Linked DNA regions of Homo sapiens: regions 1, 2, 3, 4, 5 and 6 are each linked to region 7. Evidence: promoter capture Hi-C in human tissues and cell types (Jung and others, 2019). All regions are on one chromosome and are shown on one strand. Each heading gives the region's core, a stretch centred on a gene start or on the middle of the fragment in contact. The rest is flanking DNA. Distances are from core to core; before and after follow the strand shown.

Evidence for each region. Contacts are between HindIII fragments. The study calls those that stand out against the background at their distance.
Region 1: a fragment that was not itself captured here is called in contact with the fragment with the promoter of EVX1 in region 7 in 2 of the 25 tissues and cell types used here (mesendoderm cells and small bowel).
Region 2: a fragment that was not itself captured here is called in contact with the fragment with the promoter of EVX1 in region 7 in 2 of the 25 tissues and cell types used here (liver and mesendoderm cells).
Region 3: a fragment that was not itself captured here is called in contact with the fragment with the promoter of EVX1 in region 7 in 3 of the 25 tissues and cell types used here (hippocampus, mesenchymal stem cells and mesendoderm cells).
Region 4: a contact is called between a fragment that was not itself captured here and the fragment with the promoter of EVX1 in region 7, in 4 of the 25 tissues and cell types used here (H1 embryonic stem cells, mesendoderm cells, spleen and 1 more).
Region 5: a contact is called between a fragment that was not itself captured here and the fragment with the promoter of EVX1 in region 7, in 2 of the 25 tissues and cell types used here (H1 embryonic stem cells and neural progenitor cells).
Region 6: a fragment that was not itself captured here is called in contact with the fragment with the promoter of EVX1 in region 7 in 3 of the 25 tissues and cell types used here (bladder, liver and mesendoderm cells).

Annotation. Positions count from the first base shown.
Region 1 is chr7:27,532,087-27,535,389 of GRCh38, forward strand. The region is part of intron 6 of HIBADH (3-hydroxyisobutyrate dehydrogenase); the gene reads right to left. Among named protein-coding and RNA genes, the nearest start is that of TSL, 82 kb to the right of the region's middle. The HindIII fragment of the contact is 3,145 bases long and covers 110-3,254 here.
Region 2 is chr7:27,695,201-27,698,679 of GRCh38, forward strand. All of the region lies in intron 2 of LOC105375211 (a long non-coding RNA gene), which reads left to right. Among named protein-coding and RNA genes, the nearest start is that of HIBADH, 34 kb to the left of the region's middle. The HindIII fragment of the contact is 3,939 bases long and covers 221-3,479 here.
Region 3 is chr7:27,630,701-27,634,432 of GRCh38, forward strand. HIBADH (3-hydroxyisobutyrate dehydrogenase) reads right to left here. Exons shown (of 8, transcript NM_152740.4): 3 at 1,636-1,745. Among named protein-coding and RNA genes, the nearest start is that of TSL, 17 kb to the left of the region's middle. The HindIII fragment of the contact is 6,193 bases long and covers 1-3,732 here.
Region 4 is chr7:27,514,031-27,517,421 of GRCh38, forward strand. No RefSeq gene overlaps it. Among named protein-coding and RNA genes, the nearest start is that of TSL, 100 kb to the right of the region's middle. The HindIII fragment of the contact is 4,432 bases long and covers 1-3,391 here.
Region 5 is chr7:26,856,668-26,860,433 of GRCh38, forward strand. The region is part of intron 1 of SKAP2 (src kinase associated phosphoprotein 2); the gene reads right to left. LOC124901606 (a long non-coding RNA gene) reads left to right here. Exons shown (of 3, transcript XR_007060265.1): 3 at 797-874. Among named protein-coding and RNA genes, the nearest start is that of SKAP2, 6.0 kb to the right of the region's middle. RefSeq lists an enhancer at 755-1,356. The HindIII fragment of the contact is 4,413 bases long and covers 1-3,648 here.
Region 6 is chr7:27,649,879-27,653,575 of GRCh38, forward strand. All of the region lies in intron 1 of HIBADH (3-hydroxyisobutyrate dehydrogenase), which reads right to left. It overlaps LOC105375211 (a long non-coding RNA gene), which reads left to right. Exons shown (of 3, transcript XR_007060268.1): 2 at 2,722-2,772. Among named protein-coding and RNA genes, the nearest start is that of HIBADH, 11 kb to the right of the region's middle. The HindIII fragment of the contact is 6,446 bases long and covers 1-3,697 here.
Region 7 is chr7:27,241,128-27,244,965 of GRCh38, forward strand. It overlaps EVX1 (even-skipped homeobox 1), which reads left to right and starts at 1,675. Exons shown (of 3, transcript NM_001989.5): 1 at 1,675-2,330. The coding sequence starts at 1,904. EVX1-AS (EVX1 antisense RNA) reads right to left here. Exons shown (of 4, transcript NR_120507.1): 2 at 788-883; 3 at 422-514; 4 at 302-323. RefSeq lists an enhancer at 1,293-2,170. The HindIII fragment of the contact is 9,702 bases long and covers 253-3,838 here.

The DNA.
Region 1 (3,303 bases), core at 432-2,931, 290 kb after region 7:
ACATCATTTGTTCTATCACTGGGCTGATGGCATAAACGGCTGTTCAATGTGGACCCTAGAAAAAATAATAGAATCAAAATGCTCCATTACTTGGATTCTAAAGATATAATGCAGTTTGGGAAGCACAATTTTGCTAGGTATCACTGAATCAAGTTTCAAATAAAACTTTATTCCTAGCAATTTATTTGGTTTCTTTCATACACAGAGCCATTATGAAACAATTGTCATAAAAGCTTTCCACTTTTTCTTAAAACCAACCTCTTCCAGAAAATAAAAAAAACACTGAAAAGAGACACTTATGTAAATGTTAAACAAACTGTGCATCTTGGCACGCTCAGATTGTTTACTCTGTGTGTCTAAAACACATGCCTGTTTATTTCAAAATCTGAATATCATGGCCAATAAAACATTTTTTCAGATGCTAGAGCAGGGGGCTGAGGCTAACAGCCAAAAATATGTATGGAATTACCACATAATACAACTGTTATGTAATCAGGCTTTCAAGGGGTAGCTGTGGTTCCCAGACTGCTATGTGGCATATCATGTATCTGAATTCATATGGTGGCCCATGTTATAGTGATGGATTTTACTAAGGATTGTAACAGATACAGAAATTCAGTCTAAATTGGCTATCATTCATTCTGTTCAACTGTAGATTCCCAGAGAGAAACCCAACAGTTTCATTCATTCTTTTATAAAGATCCAAGTTCACTGCATGCATAGTATGCTACTGATGCTTGCTTTCTCCTTTTAAATAAGATTAGGCTATCAGTATGCTACTGTAGTATATCACTTAGGAAAAGATAAAGCCAGTGTGCTTAGGGAATAATTGTGAAAAGTAAAATCACAATTAACAATTAGTTAATTTGCTATAACTGCAAAGTACCAAATGTTCAAGAATGCATACATCTAATATGCTCCATAAGGAGAAAATACTTTTAAAGACTCCAAAACGTCACTTTCTCTCTCCATTTGAAATATAATTTCAGGGCTTCCTAACTTAGATCTTTTAAGATGGTTCATCATATTTAAAGCAGCAGAATTCCTTCCTTCTTTCTAATCTACCAGGTTACACTCAGTAGTAGCTCACAAGAGCTTTTACAGCTAAGGAAATTCACTCTTTTCTATAATATTCAACAAAATGGTGAGCAAAGCTAATTATCCTAACTTTGTAAAACCCTACATTTTTCTTGAATGTTCAAGGAAAAGTACTGGTATTGATTGATGGAAACCCTTTCTGGTGAACACATTACTATTTAGAAGCATCCTGAGGGGCACACACAAAAAATCAGGTGGCAGTTGTTTCATTCTCACTTTTCAAATCTGATGCTTCCCCACCGTGCTGATTCCCTTCAGGAGATAGTTATTCCCTCTCCACTTCCCTCCCCCTGCCCCCACCCGCAGCAAAGTGTATCATTAAAAAGAGCAAGTTAGAAGTGTTTTGCATTTCATCTTTCTGAGGATTCGTTCTCTGGCACATACATAACTGACAGTTAAAATTAGACATGATATTAAAATCAGTTACTGAAGTCCTCTGTTTTCCACTGTGCCCAAGGCTTGTAATGGTCTGAAACCAGCTAGAATACACAGTAATTGTCATTCAGAGTCTATCCTAGAACGTCATGCTTCACTGGAGAAGACTGAGTTTCCATTCGAAATCAACAAATTAATCCAAGACAGGTATCTGAAAGGGCAAGTTTAATAGGAAGCAGCTACTGGGCTCTCAACCATGATAAAATGTTATTGCTGTTTCCCTGTAAATTGGCTGGGAACATATGATACTTTCTGCATAAGAGCCCCATTGCTGTTCAGAAGATATACAGCTCAAGCCATCAAAAGAATGACAGTCTGTCAGTCCCCATAATAACTTGCCACTGGATGTGGTTCGAGAGTGCATGCGTGCATGCATGTGGCTTTACAATTGCTGGAATGTTCTCTGATATAAACAGAATGAATTCATCGCTCTGACTGCATATATAATGCGTCTCAAATAAACGTCACTGTGTCAAATCTACTCACCTCTAAAACAAGAATTTTAAATGAGGTTTGGAAGAAGTAAAAATAATGCATAAACTGCAAAAAAATTTAAAAAATTAAACATTTGCCTTCACTGTAACCAAGACTTTAAGGGCCAAAAATGTTTGTTTATATTATCTGTGAGTAATCTATACTGTCTGGTTTCACGTAAGAACGAAATAAATTATGTCACTAAACTGGGATGTTTGTATCACAGGAACAGATCTGGAAATGAAACATCTAAGACCATGTCAGTTTTAATTAATCAATCACTTATCCATCAATGTTTACTCAGATCTGCTATATCCAAGTGCTACACGTGCAGCGAAGGAGACAGTAAGAAGGAAGCTAAGAGGAGGCTGTGCCTGTCTGCCAGGAGGGCTGAGTTAAGACCCACCTGGATAACTTTTACCTTTGGCAAGAGAAGTGCCATATCTTATCCCCTCACTCACTCACTCCCCTACCTCCTCCCTCCTCTCCTTATTTATCTGACAAATCTTCACTGGGTGCCTAATACCTGCCAGGTATATTCTTAAGATATGGCAATGAGTAAACAAACCATTTCCCATCATGGAGCTTCTAGATGGGAAGACAGGTAATAAACAGACAAATAAATATGTAATGCCAGCTAGTGAGACATGTTAGGAAGAAAAAGATTAAAGTACAATTTAATTTCAAACAATAACCACCTCACCACAACCACAAATATCATTACCACATATCGACACCTACTATGTGCCAGAAACTATTTAATAAGTTTTATATGGATTAACTCACTTAATCTTCACAACAACCCAGTGGATAGATGTAATCACTTTTGTCATTTTATAAATGAGAAAAGCTTAAGTCTGTGGGACAGCTTGAATGCAGACCTACATGTATGCCCAAATGCCATCGTACTGGCTAGTAGTTGACTATTAAGTAGGTGGTAAACTTAATAGTCAACAACTAGCCAGTACGATGGCATTTTATGAGTTTATTAAGAAATTTGTATGATGGATAAGTGAATGATTTGGATTGACATGGTCTTAGATGTTTCATTTCCAGATCTGTTCCTGTGACACAAACATCCCAGTTTAGTGACATAATTTGTTTTGTTCTTATGTAAAACCAGACAGTATAGATACATACAAAGAACAAGCTTTTTGGCCATTTACAAATTACAAACCTTTGCCATCTGTTATATTTATTAGGGTAAACAACTAAGGCTCCAGTCATCACATAAATGCAAAAGCAACATCTTCTAAGGGCAGTATGCAAGAAACTATTAATAAAACTACATTGGAG
Region 2 (3,479 bases), core at 940-3,439, 450 kb after region 7:
TGGAAACACAAATTTAAAGCATTCCCTTCCATATACTCTGATCAAGACGACAGAATGAGTTTACTTGGAAGCAACATCCTACCCACAAGAAAACCACCCTCTGCCCTCCACAGCATCATAGACAGAATGTTTATTTTAATAAGTCTATACTTAGAAGTGATAAAGAAAAAAATTATTCAATGATGCTTGTTAAAGCATGCTAAAGAAGACTTTATTCAGGAAGACTGCAATAAGTGTAAGAACCATGGCGAGGGGATTTTGCAGTGGAGGAGAGAGATTGGGCTCAACTCCGAATACAACACAGGCAAATGGGAATTTATAGCCAAGAAGCAGGGTAGGGCTCAGTGGATAAAAATTACTAAGAGGACACATTAAGGGTAAGGGGGATTCTGGTGAAATTGACCTAACAGGATTCTTGCTGAAGACAGGCCAGGGTGATCAGACATCTCCTGCAGGATGGCGGAGTTTGAGGAACCTGATCAAGCTATTGAGGGTGATAGGAAATGCAGGATGGAGAGTTCTTGCTAAACTGACTTAGCAGGGCTCTTGCCAAAACTGGATTTTACAAGGAAGAGCATAGATGGGCCTAGGAGAAGGTTCAGGAGCCTGACTAAAATTTGGTCAAGCAAAGCATCTTTGTCAAAAGACATCTCCAAGTTCCAAAATGAGAAGCTTAAAATGGGATTTGAAATATGTCTCTATGTACACATGGAGAAATAAGAAACATGATAAATTTATGTATTTTCTTTTAGAGAAGTTTGTGATATATTAAGTAAAAATAGTAAATTGTGGATTCACATTTATAATTCTATTTCACAGAAAACAAACTCAAAAATCAATCTGTGTGTGTGTGAGATGAGCAAATTATATAGGCTAGATTATACTATATAATTTGTGAAATGATACATGTTGGTCATTTAACATGTGAGCCTTAGATGGCAGAGACAGAATATATACATAAAATAGTTTTTTGGCTTTTTAAAAGAGACAGGGTCTTGCTGTGTTGTCCAGGCTAACTGGAACCCCTAGACTCAAGTAGTCCTCCTATCTTAGGCTCTTAAGTAGCTGGGACCACAGGCATGTGCCAGGAAAAATTGTTTTTTTAAAATATAACTTTGTATAATCTCAGTTGTTACAACTAGCCTGTATTATTTTTATAGTTTGAAAATCCCCAAATTAAGGGAAGTATAAAAAAAATTACATGACTAAGTTTAACATAGTTTCTAGATTCAATAGTAAATTTCATACTGATTCAGGATTCATTTGTAAATTTTCTAAATTTCATCTAATTATAAAAATATTAAATATTCATTTAAGAAATACTGAACAACAGAAAATCACACAAGTACAAAGAAAATAGGTAACACCAATAATTCCAACTCTTAGAGATAAATATTATGAACATTAATATTTTGGTGTAATTATTTCTGGTCTTTTTTTTTCTATGTATGCTATGTGTGTGTTTGTATATTTAAAACAAAAATTAAAAAAAAATACTTTCTATACCCCACTGTTTTTGAAACCCAACAAAGGTTTTCCAAAAAATCAAATATCTTTTTTTTTTGAGATGGAGTCTCGCTCTGTCGCCCAGGCTGGAGTGCAGTGGCGCAATCTCGGCTCACTGTAAGCTCCGCCTCCCGGGTTCATGCCATTCTCCTGCCTCAGCCTCCGGAGTAGCTGGGACTACAGGCGCCCGCCACCACACCCAGCTAATTTTTTGTATTTTTAGTAGAGACGGGGTTTCACTGTGTTAGCCAGGATGATCTCGATCTTCTGACCTCATGATCCGCCTGCCTCAGCCTCCCAAAGTGCTGGGATTACAGGCGTGAGCCACCGCGCCCGGCCTCAAACATCTTTCTTTAGCAGCAGTGTAGTGACTATACTGCACACTGTAAGGGCAAGGATTATATTTGACTAAAATGAAACGGTGATTTAAACACAAAAGCAGGCAGTTTAGGGATGGTGTGGTGGTTCCTTGACGTCAAGGCTGACTGTAATTGTGGGGCCCAGTGCAAAATGAAAATGTGGGGGCCCCTGTTCAAAAATTTAAAAAGTGTTTCATTAAGAGTACTGAAACATAGGCTGAGCGTGGTGGCTCATGCCTGTAATCCCGGCACTTTGGGAGGCCTAGGCGGGCAGATCACCTGAGGTCAGGAGTTCAAGACCGGCCTGGCGAACATGGTGAAAGCCCGTCTCTACAAAAATACAAAAATTAGCTGGGCATGATGGCAGGTGCCTGTAATCCCAGCTACTTGGGAGGCTGAGGCAGCACAATCGCTTGAGCCTGAGAGGCGGAGGTTGCAAACAAACAAAAAAAGAGTACTGAAATATAAAGATTTTTCTTTTCTACTGGGACCTCTCTCTTGACTTGCCCTGGTGTTTTTTTAAAATTTCCTATTGTTGATCTAAGTAACAAAAAATACGTAAAAACGTAAATTGATAGCATGAATTTTACCCTTCATCTTTATATTAAGCAATGCTAGTTTTAAATGCAAATATAAGAACATTTAATGTGTGTACATGAGATCACCGAAATCACATAATTCATATTTTATAATATGTGTGTGCATTTGTACTTTGTTCTTAACCAGAAGAATGAAAATGTTGCACAAAATGAAATTAACTGTTTTTATTTCACTTCTTGATACAAGCAGCTTCTACCAACACTTTCTACCTTTGGCTTACTGATAAGTAAGGAAGGACTGAAATTAAAAGGAACTATGGGCTGTCTAACTTCCCTTTTCCTTCTATGTTATTATTTTCAGGGTAAGTTGTTGACTACTACAGGGAAGTAACATAAGTAAGAAATGACACAACAGGATTCCTTGATTGTTTATGTTCCTAGAAATGCCACTGCCTTCTTTCTGCATAGCAAGTTCTAGTTCAGATGGAAAGTGTGGCCTCTTGGGGCCATCAGTACTCCAATTAATTAGTCATAGATCTAACACATTTTCCTTGTACACTCTGAGTCTCATTGAACTCTCACTCATTGTGGGGCCTCCGGAATTCAGAGCTCATGAGACTACATGCAAATAGGGCAACAAGAAACAGCAGACGTGCTGATTGTGTGTAACTTCTCTTTTCACACACATGCTTCCTTGTTCTACTAGACTTTATGTAGAAAGCACAACCTCAGGCTCGGTGTGGTGACTCATGCCTGCAATCACAGCACTTTGGGAGGCCAAGGCAGGCAGATCACTTGAGCTCAGGTGTTTGAGACCAGCCTGGGCAATGTGGCAAAACCCTGTGTCTTCAAGAAATAAAAAAATAAAAATAAAACAAAACAAAACAAACGGACGTGGACGCACATGCCTGTAGTCCCAGCTACTTTGGAGGCTGAGGAGAGAGGATCACTTGAGCTCAGGAGGCAGAGGCTGCAGTGAGACTGCACTGCAGCCTGGGCCATAGAGGGAAATCCAGTCTCAAAAAACAAAACAAAACCAAAAAATATAACATCAAAGATGACAGTTATTAAAAGT
Region 3 (3,732 bases), core at 1,059-3,558, 390 kb after region 7:
GACCAGACTAGGCAACATAGCAAGACCTCGTCTAAAATAAAAAGAAAAGAAAAATATACATATTAAAAATTGTTTAAACAACAATTTTAGACATATGAATTGTTACAATTCAAATGCAATTGTTGGGTATATTTCACAGAAGAGAAATAGCATACTCCAAGAGTATGTAGGTTTCTCTTTAGCCTAAAAGAATAAGAATTAAGTTTATCAATCTGTGATCTTAATATTTTAAGATCTTAAACCTTTCAACAAATGGAAAATCATCCCAAAAATTATACATGCACTGGGTGTATGGAAATGATCCTCACCCAGAAAAAAATAAAGAATCACCCATAAGAAGCAAATTATAGTTCAATGTAAAGTCAAACTTTTTAAAAACACTCCCTGGACCAAACTGTTCTGATAGCTAGTCACCATATTCCTTAGCAAAGGATATTAACAAATGTAGGGCTATGTCTCCTCAGAAGTTTTTAGTAACTTTTCTTTCAGAGGTAAAGCAGGACCATAACTGTAACAGGCTAGGTAACAGGACAGCTAGGATGCCTCTGGACCACACACACTGTGGCCCTGAGAGCTCCATCCAAAATGAGTGTCTTTTAACCTTCCCTGAAATCTAAACATTTATCTTATCAGTTTTCTGCCTAATATCCAAGTGTCTTTTGCTTCCTTCCAAGTTGGTTAGTTTTCCAACACAATTCAATTACCAGAAACTTCAAATTTCACATATTACAGTTTCCTGAAATTACACCCTTTCTTTTAGCCCTTCTTGTGACTACAGTGTCTACCAGTTTGCTCTAGCTCTTTGCTGAAATTCAACAACAAAATAAGTTAGGAATAGAAACAGTGACATGACAAAACTAAGCTGGGAATTCAATCACTATCATCCTAACATAACCGCAAGGGTTTGGCAATAAGCAGCAATTAACCAAAAGGTTTCTCAGAGCCAGGGAAGACAGGCACTGATTAGGAAACTGACCTAAACTGTATTTTACTTAACCCATTTATGCCTAGTGTTCCATTTATGCTAAGTTTGTGGGAGTTATTTACATCCTACTGCTCAAGCAGTACATCCTACTACTCAAGGTCATTGCCAAGGTCTGATTTTTCACAAAAAAATTTGCAACCTCTGACATAAATGGGTTAAAGAGCTACTGCTAACCTTTAATTCCAACTTCCCAAAGTTCTTACTACAAACGTACTAACCCACAGGACATAACTTTTTTTCGTATAATAAAATGTTAAACGATGGTGTTCTTTCCAATGTTTGGCTATATTTTTCATAAAACCCTTTTCCTGAATTTCTATAAGCTGTAAGAAAATTATATTATTAACAGTTGCAGTTTCAAATGTAAGCTTTAAAAGTCTCTTAAACATGTTACTAGTGAAAGGGTAAGTTTAACGCAAGAGTTAAAGGAAAGAAACGGAACCAAAAAATTTTATACACATTGTCACATACTTGACTTCAGTGAAAAAATAAGCCTTTTACAATGAGAAAACCACCACACTATTCACTTTATGAAATAAAAACAGTATAGAAAGGTTTAACAAACACAATTGTAATTTCCTAATAGTTCTAACATGTGAAATTCATGAACTATCATAACAAGAAAATATCCACAGGTGAGAAATACATACTTTAGAATCCCATTTGCTCCGGAATAAGCTTCTATTGCATTGATACTGGTGGGCAGCATTGTAATAATTCTGTCAGCTTTTTCAGCAACATCTGCTGGGGAAGATACTACCTTTAAAAAAAATTGCAAAGGCACATTATTTAAATTAAAATGTAAGCAGTTTCTAGAGCACAAACAGGATCCACTTTTCATGCATGCCTATAACAGTGACAGTGCATAAAGACTAATCCTTGTTTGCAAATGACCAAAAAAAAAAAAAAAAAAGCTTACTGCCCAAAATAAAGGCACATCATTATACATATACAGATGCAGTTTCTGTGAAATCAAATCTATCGTTTATTTTTAAAAGTGTGAAGGGAGTTGAGGGTAAAAGGGCAAAACCCAGCAGTCCTGGGAACAGACACACTTCTCATGGGTTCTTCCAAGTTGGATTCCTAAACAGCATAATCTTTGGTATACACTTTGACTAAGAAAAATATTCTAGTACAACAACGCTGGTAACTCAACTGTAGGATTCATCAGTGATTTGGTGGGCAGCAAAATCCCCTAACAAAATCTCAAGTCCCAGTCCCCACCATCCTCCAGTCTGTATTTTCAAGCAAAAAAAAAAGAAGAAAGTATCTGTTTCAGAAAAGAAAAGTCTGTTTCAGAAAAGAAAAGGTCAGGACAAGGACATAAACACTTACTACAATGACTGCAAGTACCACCAGGAAGGCTAACAGTATGAGCTACCGAAACTTACGTGGAAACTACATACAGAATAAAGATATATGAATAGGCATCAGGGCACTCTCTCAACCCTCATTTCTGCTTTAATAATGACCACGAACATACTGCAAAGGAAAATTGCGCTGTCTATCCTGTTTGCTTAGGTGCATGCATGAGTAGATGCACTGTTACTCACATCCCCCATCCCCAGCTCTCTGGCTCTTTTCCACATATTCACCTTGATAAACCTGGCCAGCCAACTGGCAACCAAAGAGGTCAGGAGAGACCAGGAGCTCCTTCCTTGACTCAAACTCTCCTTTAATAGAAAGAATCAGCTGGGCACAATGACTCACGCCTGTAATCCCAGCACTTTGGGAGGCCGGAGCAGAAGGATTGCCTGAACCCAGGAGGTGGAGACCAGTCTGGGTAACACGGTGAGACTCCATCTCTACCAAAAAATAGAAAAATTAGCTGGGTGTAGTGGGGCGCACCAGTAGTCCCAGCTCCTTGGGAGGCTAAGATGGGAGGATAACTTAAGTCCAGGCGTTGGAGGTTACGGTGAGCTATGATCGCGCCACCATACTCCAGCCTGCCTGGGCAACAGAGCGAGACCTGTCTCTTAAAAAAAAGAAAAAGAAAAGAAATCCGGCATCCCAACTGTCACAACATCTTCTGCAAAGCCTTTTTTCTCTTCATTAAAAAAAGACAAAAGACGATCAGGCAGATTATTGAGGATTTCTCTCCAGAATGAGTTACATATGTAAAAACTAACATATTTCTACATACATTATGCATGTAGAAACGTATTTCTACTAGAAAATGTGAAGGGACATGTAAGCATCTTACAAATAGGAATGCCTCTGCTTTTCATGTGGCAGAAGTTTACACATGTTCTTTTTGTATTTATGTGCATTTGATGAAAGTAAAAGAATAGGAAGCCAAACAGAGTGTGTAATCTAAATATTAAGAGCTAGAAGTAATTACATTTCAGTTTTCCACAAGAGACTATCAGCTTCTAAATCAAATTCAGGATAAATGTAGCTTTAACAAAAAGCAGTTTCATAAGTCACTCTTTAAAATTTCAGTAAATCAAGTATCCTGGCATATTGTGTATTAACAAGCTAGGAAATGATATTATAAAATATCTCAGACCCTAAAACAACAAAAAAAGATATTCTCTTTTAATGTTTCACTCTAAAGACAATACAGCATTTTATAATCTACAATGAGATACATTCAACCTGTATATTTTGATATATAATGAGGACTTGCTACAAATAATTCTAAAAATTAAAAAATTTTCCATCAAATTACAAAGAAATAAGCGCTTAAGTTGCATGAAAACCTTTCCTACACCTTCATAAATATTGAGACTCTAGAAGAGGCAACT
Region 4 (3,391 bases), core at 872-3,371, 270 kb after region 7:
TATGTGTTCATGTTTCTAACTCAGGGAAAGCTTCCAAATATTGGGGCTGGGCTTCCTAAGACTTGGCAAACCTGCCTCACTACAATCAATCCCTCATTTCCTCCAATCCTTCCTGCTTTAGAGCTCATGGAATCAGGACCCTGGGAGCTTTGGCTTTGCCTGTGTTCCTGGACAGCTAAAGGAAGGGGAATTACTAGTTCCTTAGTAATTTTATTAGTAATTCAAGAGAATTACTAATAAAAACTGGGGTTATCTCATTCATTTGTTCATTCACTCATGCACCAAACAAATGCTGTGTGTGGGATCCATCCAGTGTGCCAGGTGCTTGTGATACCTCAGTCACAAAACCACAGTCCCTGCCCTCATGGAGCTCATGTTTGAATGTCTACTCAGGCAGTGGACATGCTCATTTGCCTGGTGCCAGCCTGTGGTAGAAATGCAGGTGCTGCCACGCATCAAGAGGCCTCCTCAGTAGGTAGGTGGGTTGGAGCCTTCTTGTCAGTGCCCATCTAAAGAGCCCAATAAGGAGACCAGGGCATGGAAAAGGATGTGAATCACTTTTCAATACTATTACATAAAACAGCTTAAGATGAATGAATACAGGAGGTCCCTGCCTATAAGACGCAGGTCTGTGCCCATATGGAAGTTGAGAGAGATGTGGACAAAGGCAAGCTGGAAGAGATCTTCCCATCAGAAAATAGTGGGGTTGGGGAAAGGTGACAGCAAGAGGGACTGCAAGGCCCTCTGAGGCCTCACACATGGTGCCTTGAGAGATATAGAATACCCCCAGTTTTCTTAGGGAGGGTTGCAGCTGTTTTACCTGGTCTCAAGTAGATTTTACTAGAATGCTCTCCCTAGCCATCTTCACAAGCAGACTAACAAGGCCTCCTCTTCCTCCTTAGCCTAATCAAATCCATCTGGAGAGACAGAGGGCATGGCCTCCCTTTACACCCGCTATCCATCTGAATTACCTGGACAGGACCCGGAGTCTTGCTCACGCCAGTATGAAATTGTCCCTAGGCTCTCCTGACACTTCCCAGAGCTGCACTGTGTCTTCCTGAGTGCAATGGATCCAAGGTGACATTTACAGGAGAGTGCTGATTTGATCTTGCTTCTAGGAAGCAGGGTAAGGCTGAGGTCCTTGGCCTTGACAAGGCAGGACCCAAAGGCCAAAGGTTGCTATTTAAACACACGTTTCTAGCTGAGCAAGTTAATGTTGCCAACGTTGACAATATTTAAAAAACGTCTCCCATAAGCAGGATGCTGCTGCTGCAAGCCAGACAAAGAAGCACCCACTGTCCCCCGGCAGCTCACTGCATGCTTGGAAGTCAGTTGAAAACTTCGGAGATCACTTTGTTTTACTCAGAAACTGCTTATTTTTCAAAGTTAAAATTTTTCAAAGTTAATATTTTTCAAAGTCACAATTAAGCAGTTTCTGATTTTTTGTTTCTACTGAGCTGCTCCATTTGTTATCTGTTAAGTGATCAAAATAGGCAAAGGCTTTCTTTTGACATTTTTCTTTTTTTCTTTTTTCTTTTCATTTTTTTTTTTTTTTTTTGAGATGGGAGTCTTGCTCTGTTGCCCAGGCTAGAGTGCAGTGGCGCAATCCCGGCTCACTGCAACCTCTGCTGGTAGGGTTCAAGTGATTCCCATGCCTCAGCCTCCTTAGTAGCTGGGATTACAGGCACGCACCACCACGCCTGGCTAATTTTTGTATTTTTAGTAGAGATGGGGTTTTGCCATGCTGGCCAGCTGGTCTTGAACTCCTGACCTCAAGTGATCCGCCCACCTCAGTCTCCCAAAGTGCTGGAATTACAGGTGTGAGACACCACGCCCTGCCTCTTTGGACATTTTTCTCACTCCAACAATTTAAGGAGAAGAGAGGTTCTTAGTTACTGACAGGAAGGTGATTGCCCATTATTCTGAAACTCAAAAATAAAAGTGCAGAAAGATTGATCAGAGGATTTGCTCTCTCTGGAAATACCGGTCTTGCCATCTTTCAAGCAAATAGCGGCTCACTGGTAGGAATTTCAAAACCTGTGCTTAAACTGCCAAATTCCTTTCCTCTGCTGTTCCCATTTCTCTGTAATGATGGCCCCAGAAGGGAGGCTTGGTGCAGGCTGACGCTTTCTCTGCCTTGGGCAGCATGGAATGTCTCGCCTTTGACACACAGCCAGGCTCCAAGGAGGTCCTCCATAAACACTTGTGGATACATGTTTGTGGTCTGTGTCTGCAGTGCATTTACCTTCTCTACCTTCTCTATTATAATTCACATTAGTCCTCCTTTGTCTCTCTAACAATAGAGAAGGGTAGGAAAACCTTTTTTGTAACCTAATTTCAAACTCATCACCTATTTCTTTCATTACAACCTTCATCATTTACAGCAAGCAAAGCAAGCCTTAGGTCATCATTTTCCCATTAGTAGAGGACAGCAAGGGTTCACTTTATATGAATATTCTTTCCCTTTCCCACAAAGTAATGATCTAAGACTTCTAGCTAGGGGGAAAAAAAATGGTGTTCTTCCCAACCTGGAAATGGCATTGCTCATTAAGTGACTGAGGCTTGCTGAATCCTATGCAAATCAGTCCTGATGAGCCTTTAACTAATCTGTTTACAAACCAGACCTGCTAGACAGGCCTCAGTGATTTTCTATCAAAGCAAAAAGCACTGCTCTTTATGGGCATCTGGCTGTCCCTGAATGGGTAGTTTAAACATAGACTCTTTCCTTCAAAGTAAGATCAAAGGCTTTATGACTCCTAAATGAGTGCATTATTTCCACTTACTACCTTCTTGTTTGCAATTTGTGTTTATTAACAGCACTGTCTCAGGTTTACTTTGTGAATTACTAGTTTCTGAAAACAGTATGGCAGTTTTATGGACCACAGTATACATTTGTGGAGATTATGTAGCATATAATATATAGAATGGCCCATCAGACAGGACATTAGGCAAAGACAGTTCTCTGCAAAGATGACAATGCCTGACCATGCAGAATACATTCATGATTTTTTTAAGGAAACCATCTGGCATAACAGGGCTAACACAAGAAAAGATTCCCCAGCTCTCCAGATTTGATAACTCTTTGACTACCTTAGAAGAATTTTCTTTGAAATTTTATTTCTTTTGAAGAGAGTAAGTACCTAAAGCTGTATCGTAGGTGAGGGAATGCCACTGGTACTTTTCAAGGAGAAGCACAAACAGGTTCTTTTAGAGAACAAGCAGATTGTTTTAAAAACCACAACAAAGATTCCAGCATGTAACTAACCACTTAAGAAACCCTTCTTTTAGTCCTTCAGCTAGCAGCTTCCCAGTGCGAAGACAGAGGTCTCTATCGTCCCTGGTCCTAACACAGAGATTAGAACCCTGTCCTTCACTCCCACCATCCAATTCA
Region 5 (3,766 bases), core at 192-2,691, 380 kb before region 7:
AACTTTTGCAAGAAAGTGGAATAAGGGAAGAAGCAACATCCCTACTGCTGATTCGTCTTCCAACCAGACTCAATAGGAAGAATCACTGGCCCAATGACTGGGGAATAGTCTGCTTAATGTTATTTTCACTCAATGTTTGCCTTTGATTTCCTCTTCCATGAGTATTTAATTGCCTATTTTATATTTTCATTATACAATCCAAGTTTAAACAAACAATCTATTTTCTATCACTGGAAGTAATAACAATGAATTGCCCCCAAGAGTTTTTTTCTTTAAAAGGTCATTTCAGTTTTATAAAAATTCAGAAAAAAAAAAAAAAGGCTGCAATAAACACTCTACATAGTGCCCTCTAACGCCCCCAAACATGTTTTTAAAATACTGATCCATGTTACTATTTTATGACAAAGTTTTTTTTGAAAGAGTGTGGGACTGTAGGAAGAATCGGTATTTTTCAAGGATGCCAGAAATTCAGAGATTGGGTATGGTCTTTTTTTTTTTTTTTTTAGAGTAGCCTTTTTTAATATACTTATTCCTAAGCTTTTCCCAGAAAAGGTTTAAAGCAACTAAAATTATTTAATAAACAGTGACTTTTTCGTGATTATTTCTCAAAGGTGATGTGGAGAGAGTAGAAACTGCTTTGCTTAAAAAAAAAAAAAAAAAAAAAAAAACTTTAAACTGGAAGCAGTTCCCGAAATAATTTTAGTTTGTTGACTGTCCACAACCAAACTTGGTTGGTTTTTAAGCTTTTGAAATCTAGGTTATTTCTTAAAATCTACACTTTACCCGTTTCTTTTAGAATCGAATGAAACCAGCCTCTTCCAGGCACAGGAGACTCCTAGACGTGCCGGTGGCGTTCGGCCGGTGTCTGAGCAACACACCGATCCTGATCTCGCAACGCAAAGACAGACCAAGCGCCGCAAAGAAGTTGTAGGGCTGCGAGATGCTCCAGCTCTGCCCTCTGAGAAACGCACTTCAGCGTTAAACCCCAGGGTTCCTCTCAGGCGGAGCAGTGAGCATGGAGAGCCGGGTCTGGGGCAGAGCCCTCACTAGACAAATGGGGCTGGATCTGTGGCTTTGTAGCTCAGAGCCAGGGTAATATTTCAAAAGCAAGCAATAAGAGTCTTGGGCGAATCAAGTGTTCCTCTGGCTGGTTGGAGAAGAGATTTGAAGCTTCTTATTGTGCTCTAAATAGCCCTGCAAACGGTAAACTAGCAAGCACAGTAAACTAGCAAGAGCGTTAGCCTTCTTCTACCTTCCTTTGAGGGTCGTGTTCCTCGGTTAATATGTAGATTTCACCATTCCTGAGTGCCCGTAATTCAGGGAAACGCAGTAATTTGATAACAAGAAAAGGTCAGCCTCCCTCGCTCGACCCTTAGCCCGGTTTTTAGAATTCTTCCTCGGAGGCAGGGGCTCAACTCACACTCTCACGCATACTGGCCACGGGAGAGAAGCGTGGGAGGCCCACTCTGCGCCCGCGGGAAAGGGTTTAACTACCAGGTCTAACTACCCCCACCCACCCCCATCTCCTGCCTCCGGGCCGGCAGCCAAATAGACTGCAGAGTCTACACTGCTTGCATTTAACCCCAGAATTACCCCTATCTCCATCAGCCTCCACCCCAGCCCAAGTCATCAGCAGGAAAAAGTTATCCTGGTGAAAGTAAACGTGATGGGATTTTAGCTCCTAATACACCTTAACACTGTCAAGAGTAAACCTTATCTCACGGTACAGCTGTAAGGATCTGGGGGAGAAGGCCTCTGAAAAGATCAGATTTACAACTGCTCTGTCGATAAATGTTAAGGTCTGAAAACAAAATTAAAAGTTGACGTATACTGGCTCAGCAATCTTGAGCAGTTTAAGTTAGAAATCTCTCAATTGCCATGGAGACCCCTAAGAGGCAAACACACCAAATCACTGAATAGTACTCCAATCTTCCTTTTTCCCCCCTTTTAACATATAGACCTCCTAAAAAACAGCCACCCCACCTTTCCCTGGAGTCGCAAGTGGTTGGGACAAGTATCTAACACACACACACTAACTGCTTTCTGCCAACTTCTACACAGATCACATAGTGAAAAGGTGGAACTACACCAGGTCAGAACAGTTTAAATTTTTTTGCAAATGATAAAGTAACTCTCAGCTTCTGGATGTAGTATCTAGCACAGATTCCCACTCTTGAAAAGCAGTTTGGCCACTTGTCCTCACCACCCCCGACTATCAAACAGCCTAGAATAGGGCTTGCATACTGGAGGTTAAAAACAAGTCACAAAGGTAACACCTCCTCTTCCTGCCTAGTCCTCCAACCACCCAATACCTCCTGGCCCATGCATATACACACACTCAGCCTCTGTGATGGCCTGAATTGTATGGGGGAGGGGGAGGGCGCAAGAATTGGGCTGAATCTACCACCATATGCTTAGCCGCAGATCAATAAAATAAAGGTAAAACCAATCACACAGCACCCCCATGGCCTTTCTAACTTAATTCCACATCTCTCTCTACATTGTGAATTGGGCCAGATTTCTCTCTGCTTTCATTGAGATGTGCTGTCACCAAACTTAATATGATAGGGATCCTACCCTAGAATGTAAGCTACCATCAGGAAAAAAAAAAAAAAAAGACATGCTCTTCTCTGTTAAAGCAGGGTATGGCTCTGACCAAACAGGTACTGATAAACATAAAAATCAATTAAACTGGGCACATGCAAATCAACAGAGCCAAATGCCCAAAGTTGGAAAATGGCTAATTGAAAAGTTATTGATTGTTCTAACTGATGTCTTTCCCTGATTACTTAGCACTTTTACAGGTTACAGATGAACTGTGGACTTTTCAAACATGGAAAAGGTGACATGAACTGGCACAAGAGCTCTCATGGTACAATGGGTAAAAAATACCAGAGTCTTACAATCCAATCATTGGACAAAATTTCCAAAATTGACTTTGGGAAGCTAAATGATGTATTTTGATAGAAAGCTGGGCTGTTTAAAGGTAGGGCTGAACATCTTTCAACCCTAAAAGATGACTCTTGATAAATAGCACCTTACAATAATCAAAATCTTTTTACTACATATTTTCAAAGAAGCCACAGTGAATAACACATTAGTCTGAGATTTACACTATATTCAGTTTTAGGCAGCATCTATTGTAATGTGTTCAGAATGTGATTGAAAAAGAAATGTAAATTCAGTGGAATGAAAAAGAGACTTAGCTTTAATTGAAAAAGACAAACTAAGTGAATCATGAGTATATAAAATCTAGCCTATGCCACTTTTATCACCCATATATGACACTTAATCTGAAATTTATGAGACAACTAAACTGTGTTTCAAATCACCAGCAGCTTTTCCTACTCTGTTGTGTCTACCTTCTTTCTAGTAATACTTTAATGCTGGTAACAGGAGCAATAAGCCCATTTGCAAATTTTTCATATAATGCTAATTTTTTAATATGTTTAGATTCTTCTTTTTGAAGAAAACCAATGATAATTTGGATTGGGTAGCTATAAAAACTGTACGTAGTATCAAGAGCCTTATATAGTAATGAGATGAAAATACTTTCAATGGACAGCCATGCCAAAAGATCTCCTCCCAAGAAAAAGCAGGACATTATATACTTAAAATAGGCAAATAATTTTCCTAACACCACATCTTAATTCATCTATATTATTTAGCCCATACAAAAAACTCTGTAAACCTCTAGTCCCTTAATTTACATATATTCCTATTTCTAGAAAAGAATATCTTGGAGGTACGATAGATTTCATTTTGA
Region 6 (3,697 bases), core at 592-3,091, 410 kb after region 7:
TAATATTTATTAAAAAAAAAACCCACTAACTTTTAAAAGGCAAATTTTAAACTAATGGACCTAACCACATTTAAAGTTATCAACAATGTGCAGGCAGACTAACTTCTAATTATTTAGTTTTCTGGGGCACATTCACAAAATTTTAAGCATTTTTCCTGTTTTGTACCTGTATAACATTCTTTTACCATTTTTAACAATAAACTAAATAATGTTATCATTTATAAAACACCTAATATGTAATTTACTTATAATGTGAAGTATTCCATATTATCTCCCTTAATAATGTGTATAAAAGACAGAAAGTATTCAAAAAGACGTAAGTCTTGGACCAGCTTCAAGAATGGAAAAACTTTTTACCTTCCCACTCCCACAGTTACAGAAACCATCCCCTCCAATGATACAAAAAAAAAAAAACTCAAAAAGATGTTAAACCCAGGAGAATGGAATCACCAGTTTATAAAGGTGGTCCTGGGGTAGAAAGGGGAGATACCTCCATAGGCTTTAAATGGCAAGTGTAACAGTATCAGGACCTTGGTCTAACAACTCTGAACTTTCAGAAAAGAGAGACTTCCTTATTATATTTTTATTTATTTATTTATTTATTTATTTATTTATTTATTTATTTATTTTTTGAGACGGAGTCTCACTCTGTCACCCAGATTGGAGGGCAGTAATGCAATCTCGGCTCACTGAAGCCTCTGCCTATTGGGTTCAAGCAATTCTCATGCCTTAGCCTCCGGTGTAGCTGGGATCACAGACACGCACCACCATGCCTGGCTAATTTTTGTCCTTTTAATAGAGACAGAGTTTCACCATGTTGACCAGGCTGCCATTAAAAAAAAAAAAAAAAAAGCCTTAAAAACTACACAGGTTTTATTTATTCTTTTATTTTTCATATAAGACTTTTTGAAATTACTCCGTGGGCATATGAATCAAAGTAATGCGTTACAGAGTGGGGAGGCTTTACAGTACTATGGAAATAGCGTTAGATGCAATTTTTCACTTTCTAGATTTAGAACTCCACTCAATAAATATTCACTGCATGAAGTACTATGACAGAGCTCAGAGACAGACACAAGCAACGTATGGTCCCTGTCCTTTAAAAGCTCACAGTCTAGTGAGGGAAAAGAGAGAAGTAACTCTCCTTGCTCTTCCATTTCCCAGCATTCTTTTTCTTTTTTCTTTCAAGAACTCCAGCTTTAAAATTTGTAGTGCAACAACTAATCACAGTCCCTCTTTTAAGTTTCAGGTCCCCTCAACTGAACTTAATCTGCTCTTCCCTGAACTGAATCTGAATGGAATGAGATTTGTTAAAAGCAAATTATTTGAAGCCCTAATGCTTAAGAACTAGAGGTCTTCTTGGGTTGGAAGCATATTTAATTCCTTTAACTTAATGACTGACTCTAACACTTCCATTAAATGTGGGTGTCATTTCTGTGCAACATCATTTAACAGGCGCTAAGTTTAATACACTGGTATAATAGTACACTGGTATAATAGTACACTGGTATAGTTTGTCTTTCTGGCCTGCAAGGAATTCAATGACAGAAAAGTGACACCAAACTGAAATTTTATTTTGATATTAAACAGAATGAGTACACTTCATCAGAGAACTCTAACTAATGCTCATAAACAAACTAGCAATAATAGCCAGAAAGAAAATGTGGCATTACTGTGTTAAGGTTGAAAAGGTGTAATTTAGCAATCTAAAAACTTCAGCAACTAGGAAGATTATAATTTAAAGACAGTTAATTTAACAGGCAATTCACTCTAGGTCAAACAATTCATAAGTATGGTCACGTAGAACCACAATTCATTCACAAATTCAACAAACACTAAGCAACTATCACATGTACCAAAAGAGATGCCAAAGAAGGTAAGAGACACAGTCCTTGCCTTCAACAAGCTTAAAACCAAGAAGAAATAAACCATGTACATAAACACTAACATAAGACAGTTAAAGATAAAAACACAATGCTGATGAAAAATGAGAATTCATGGTGTGGGAACTTGAGGAATGTGGCATCTGACCTGGATATTATACAAGGGGTAGGATTTCAAATGGATAGGAGGGTAAGGAGGAGGGGAACTCCATACAGAAAAAGGAACATGAATATATACAAGGAACTAGAAGAGCCATGAAGAAATGACAGTAATAGTTAATATTTACTGCAATTTTACTACATGCCAGACACTATGCTAAGCACTTTATAAACAGACCTATTACCATATGCTATATATGAAGCCCATCTTACAGCTGAGAACCCTGATGCTGAGTTGAAGTAAAATACCTAATACTTTACTAAGTTGTAATGCCAAGATTCAAATCCAGACATTCTAATTCTAGAGTCTCCACTTGTAAACATTGTATGATACTGCCCTCTATTCTTCCTAAAGAATGCACAAAGAAACAAAACAGCAAGAGATTAAGATTAAAAAAAAAATGCAACCATAATGTGGAAGGATAGAAGGATGCTAAACAACTTGTATTTTGTAGGCAAGAGGTAGTTATTGAAACAGTGGGCAAGAGAAATGACAGATGAGACTTACACTTTAGGAACAGAAATGAGGCAGCAGTGTACAATGAATGAACTTGAAGAAAAGAGCCTGGAGGCAAGAAGACCAATATAAAAGTGACAGTAATCCTCTAGATGCCTTAGTTTGAGCTACTATAACAAATATACCATAATGGCTTAAATAACGAACACTTATTTCTCACAGTTCTGGAGGCCAGGAAGTCCAACATGAAGGTGACAGCAGATCCAGTGTCTGGTAGGTCCACTTCCTCGTTTGCTGATGGCCATTTTCTCACTGTATCCTCACATGGTAGAGAGCAGAAAGAGAAGCCACTCTCATGTCTCTCTGTACAACAGCACTAATCCTATTCACAGGAGCTCTATCCGCATGATCTAATTGCCTCCCAAAGGGCCTAGCTCCTAATATCATTATATTGAGGGTTAGGAATTTTGGCCAGGCGCAGCGGCTCACGCCTGTAATCCCAGCACTTTGGGAGGCCAAAGTGGGTGGATCACCTGAGGTCAGGAGTTTGAGACCAACCTGGCCAACATGGTGAAACCCAGTCTTTACTAAAAATACAAAAATTATCCAGGCATGGTGGCATGTGCTTGTAATCCCAGTTACTCAGGAGGGTGAGGCAGGAGGATTGCTTGAACATAGGGGGTGGAGGATGCAGCGAGCCAAGATCGCACCACTGCACTCCAGCCTGGGTGACAGAGCGAGACTCCGTCTCAAAAAAGAAAAAAAAAGGAATTCAACATATAAATTTTGTGGGGACATAAAATTTCAGTCCATAACAAAGTCAAAATTAATAAAGTGTGGTAGCCACAGGAAAAGACAGGTATAAAAACTATTTCAAAGACAGAAGTAAAAGGATAAAACAATGGATTGGATTATAGGCTAAAATAAGGGTGAGGTCCAAAATGACAGTAAGAGAATAGTGTTATCAATACCTAAGTGAAGAAATCAAGGAGAGCTGGCTCAGTTTTACCCAGGGTAACTATGAACTGTCAATGAGCTGAAAAGATGTCCAACAGACTATTAGAAATACCATGACCGGCCGGGCGTGGTGGCTCACGCCTGTAATGCCAGCACTTTGGGAGGCCGAGACGGGCGGATCACGAGGTCAGGAGATCGAGACCATCGTGGCTAACATGGTGAAACCCCGTCTCTACTAAAA
Region 7 (3,838 bases), core at 425-2,924:
AGAAGAATACAGAAAGAGAAAAAGGAGGAGAGAAAAGTAGGAGATAACAGATAAAAAGGTCACGGAAGAGGACTTACCTGTAAAAGCTGGGGCTTTGCTAGGGACACAGAAAGGAGGGAGGTGCTGGGCTGCCCTTTGCAGCTGGCTGCCTAGGGCTAGAAGCTCTTCGGGAGGAGGCGGAGAAAGGGGGGTTGAGCATAGAAGGTGCCCACCTCCTGCTCTCAGCAATGTGGGGATAGACTCAGCCCACCCACCTGGCCCCAGCACACTTGCTTGGAGCTCAAAAAGGGTCAGTTTGAAGGAGTTTTATACCAGCTTCTTCCCTGGGAGAGGAGCCAAGAGAGGCCTATGGCAGCTTCCAGATATTAAGTTCCACAACCCCTGCCCCCACCTCCAGCCCTTCATCAGAGTCCCTACTTACTTGCTGTTTTAGGGCATTTTCAGCGACTTCACTCTCTTCTACCTCAAACGCCATCCACTTTTGGAGACAGGTACCACTGCCCCTAGGCAGGGACTTGGGAGAGGACCTTATGAGTCAAACCTCTATGAACCCCAACCTTTTTGTACTCGGGGAGGCTGAACCCCTGCCCAAAATAGCGCGGTGAAAGCTACTGCCTTCTCCCAAGTAGGGGCCTCCAGTACTGCCACAGCAGGGGCCGCATTCCTGGCGCCTCTTCATTCGAAAAACCTCTTTCCAGGAGACTTCGCTGATTCTGAACGAATACTTTAAAATATGGGCAAGGGAAAAAAAAAGACAACTCTTAGAAACTCTCCCCACCCAACATACCTGGAGTGCAGGCGAGGTCCAGGCAAACGGGAAAGCGACTTCTTGTACGAATAGCCATCTCAAGATGAAGCCAGGCTGTGGAAAACTTAAGGCCATCTAGATGGGAAGGAGGTATTTAAAAGAAATCAGCACACACTCTTACAGAAGCCAAGGCGGGTCTTTAAATTAAAAAATAATAATAAGGTATTTATTTCTTGCCCCTTAGGGAAGAAAAATAGCAAAGTTTGGTTCGCAGGAGTAAGGAGACAGAGGTGGGTAGGGAGAGGGAGGAGAAAAGAGGAAAAGATGGCCCAGCCTCAAGCTCTCCAGTCAACTTGGGGCGGGGGAATACATTTTTCCGTAGCTTGTAAAAAGACTTTTCAGCCAGTTTGAGGTTAGCTGCCAGGGGCAGACAGTTGTAATAATGCCGACAGAATTGAGGCTTGTAAGCCGGGCTTCACACTTCTAAAATGCAGTTATGGATTCTTTCATCGGTGTTAGATCAAGGCACCAAGTTAAGAAAACAAAAGTCAAAACAACAATAAAAGAAAAAATCAAAAGCTTATTTAATTACCGAGTCCCGCTGCCCCTGCGGAACTCGCCGCGCGCGTTAAGCTCTCTTTTCTTTCTGCGGAATTCCATTTGCATCCCCTCTGCCTGGGTGTCTCCCTCTCTCAGTGTGTGTGTCTCTCTGTCTGTTTTCACACTCTCCTCCCCAATCGAGCGAGGCCCACACCTGGCGCATCACTGCCGAGCCATTAGCTGCGGGTTTCCTTTCATCTTCGCTGTGGCAGACGTTTCTATTTATCCACTTGCGCTCGCCGAGTGGCGTCACCAGCGGTACTGTAATGACGATTGCAGCAGGAGGATGACAGCTTAGAAAGAAGAGGGCAATGGGGCTTCCTCCCAGAGGCGGTGCGGCACAGAGGAGCGCTCGCTTCACAAGGTGACCCTAGCTCCCACCGCCACCGCCGCGGTCGCGGTCCAGACCGCGCTCCAGCAGCTCCGCGCCCTCCCAGGCACCCGGCCTTTCTTTCTCCCTCTTGCAACCAAGATCCGTCCGGCCGCTGGAGACCCAGGGAGCCGGGGTTAGGAACTCACTTGGGGCTTTCCCCTCCCCCACCGGAGAGCCCCGGGATGGAGAGCCGAAAGGACATGGTTGTGTTTCTGGATGGGGGTCAGCTTGGCACTCTGGTTGGCAAGAGAGTCTCAAATTTGTCCGAAGCCGTGGGCAGCCCGCTGCCGGAGCCGCCCGAGAAAATGGTGCCCCGTGGTTGCCTGAGCCCTCGGGCCGTCCCTCCGGCCACCCGGGAGCGCGGCGGGGGAGGCCCGGAGGAGGAGCCGGTAGATGGACTCGCAGGCAGCGCGGCGGGGCCGGGCGCCGAGCCCCAGGTAGCTGGGGCGGCCATGCTCGGCCCAGGACCCCCGGCCCCCTCAGTCGACAGCCTCTCCGGACAGGGGCAACCCAGTAGCTCGGACACCGAGTCGGATTTCTATGAAGAAATCGAGGTGAGCTGCACCCCGGACTGCGCCACCGGGAACGCCGAGTACCAGCACAGCAAAGGTAGCCACCGTGCCCCTCCGCTCCCCGGGCCTCCCACTGCGCCCACCCTTCACTTCGGCGCAGGCCAGGAGGAAGACACTCCCTTCCCCTAGGGCAGGATGGCTGGGGGGACCCACCTGAGCAACTCTCTCTGCTATCTGCGTTCTGGCGGGGGTCTCCTACTGTGTTCTGGCATTGGCGGGACTGAGGGTGACAGCAGTGCCTTGAGTGCGGGGTGCTGAGGGGGCGGATGCAAGTCCTGGACTTGGGGGATTCGAAGCTCACCCCAAGCACCCAGTGTTTCAACTGCTCGGGGAATGCTTCAATTGCTCGGGGAAGACACTTTCCCCAGGCGAGGGCAAGATCAAACGCCGATCCGGGCAGTTTGTGGCTGGCAGGGTGTAAGAGGCATGGAGGCGCGGAAGCCAGGAGTCCATAAAGGACCGTAAAATTGCGGCCCACTTGGGCAGCCCGGGTGCTGCAGCCCTCCGACCAGTTTGCACGTCGGTCAGAGGTCCAAATTACCTTGTCACTTCCCGGGCTTCGCGGCGCCAGGTCGGAAATGGTCCCAATGGTCTAATTGCCTTTGGTCTCCGGTTGCATTTGAAAAGGCAGAGATCGGGTCCTCCCCCCTTCCCCTTTCCTTCCTAGTCCCACTTCTCCACCCAAAGGAAAAGGAGCTGCAGGGGGCTGGAGCCCCACCCTTCTCAGAGGTAGGCCCAAAGGGGGGCTGGTTTAACTGGAGAACCCCTCCCCACCAAAGGCTAATGGGAAAGGGGTGGATAGCCCGGAAGGGAGTTTCCCTCTGTGCCAACAATCACCTCCCCAGAAGGGGGTAGAAAACTGGGCGCGGGTTGGTGGGGGGGAGGAGAGGGGAGCCCACCAGCAGACACTCCTCCACAGAACTGTAGGAGTGGGTGGAAAGAGCCTGGGGGCGGGGGGGAGAAAGACCACCCCCTGGTCTTGGCAGCCAACGCCTTGTTGAATACCTGCACCTACCCCTTACTATCTTATCACCGATTTCACCCAGCCTCCTTCCCATAACCCTCAGAACAACCTGGACTCCACTCACATATACTAAGGTAATAAATAAGATACTCAACATGCATTCTCACTCCAGCCCTGCAATACACGGAACCTAGTACACATTCCCACACCTGTTCTGGCAGCCCGTCACACATAAGAGCAAGGAAACTCTCTGAATGCCCAGCATACTACAATGCACTTGACCCAGAGTTTACAACCCTCTAGCACAAAGGTGCATCTCAACTCATGTGCCTGTCAGAAGTGCACGCCCTGCCAACGGGAGGCAGAAATCTCACCTATGCTCCAGGGCAGGTGGGAAGGGCGGCTGGGAACCCCTGTACCCAGGATGCCTTAGAGGAAGGGAAGGCCTCCCCAAAGACCTCTACCTACCCAATCAAGGGCAGGCCCTTATTTTCCCTTCTTGGGTTCCCCAGAGGCCGCAGTACCCTAGCAGAAACAGTTACTGAGGTGGCTGACAGGGTGTCCCTTCCCAAATCACCCTC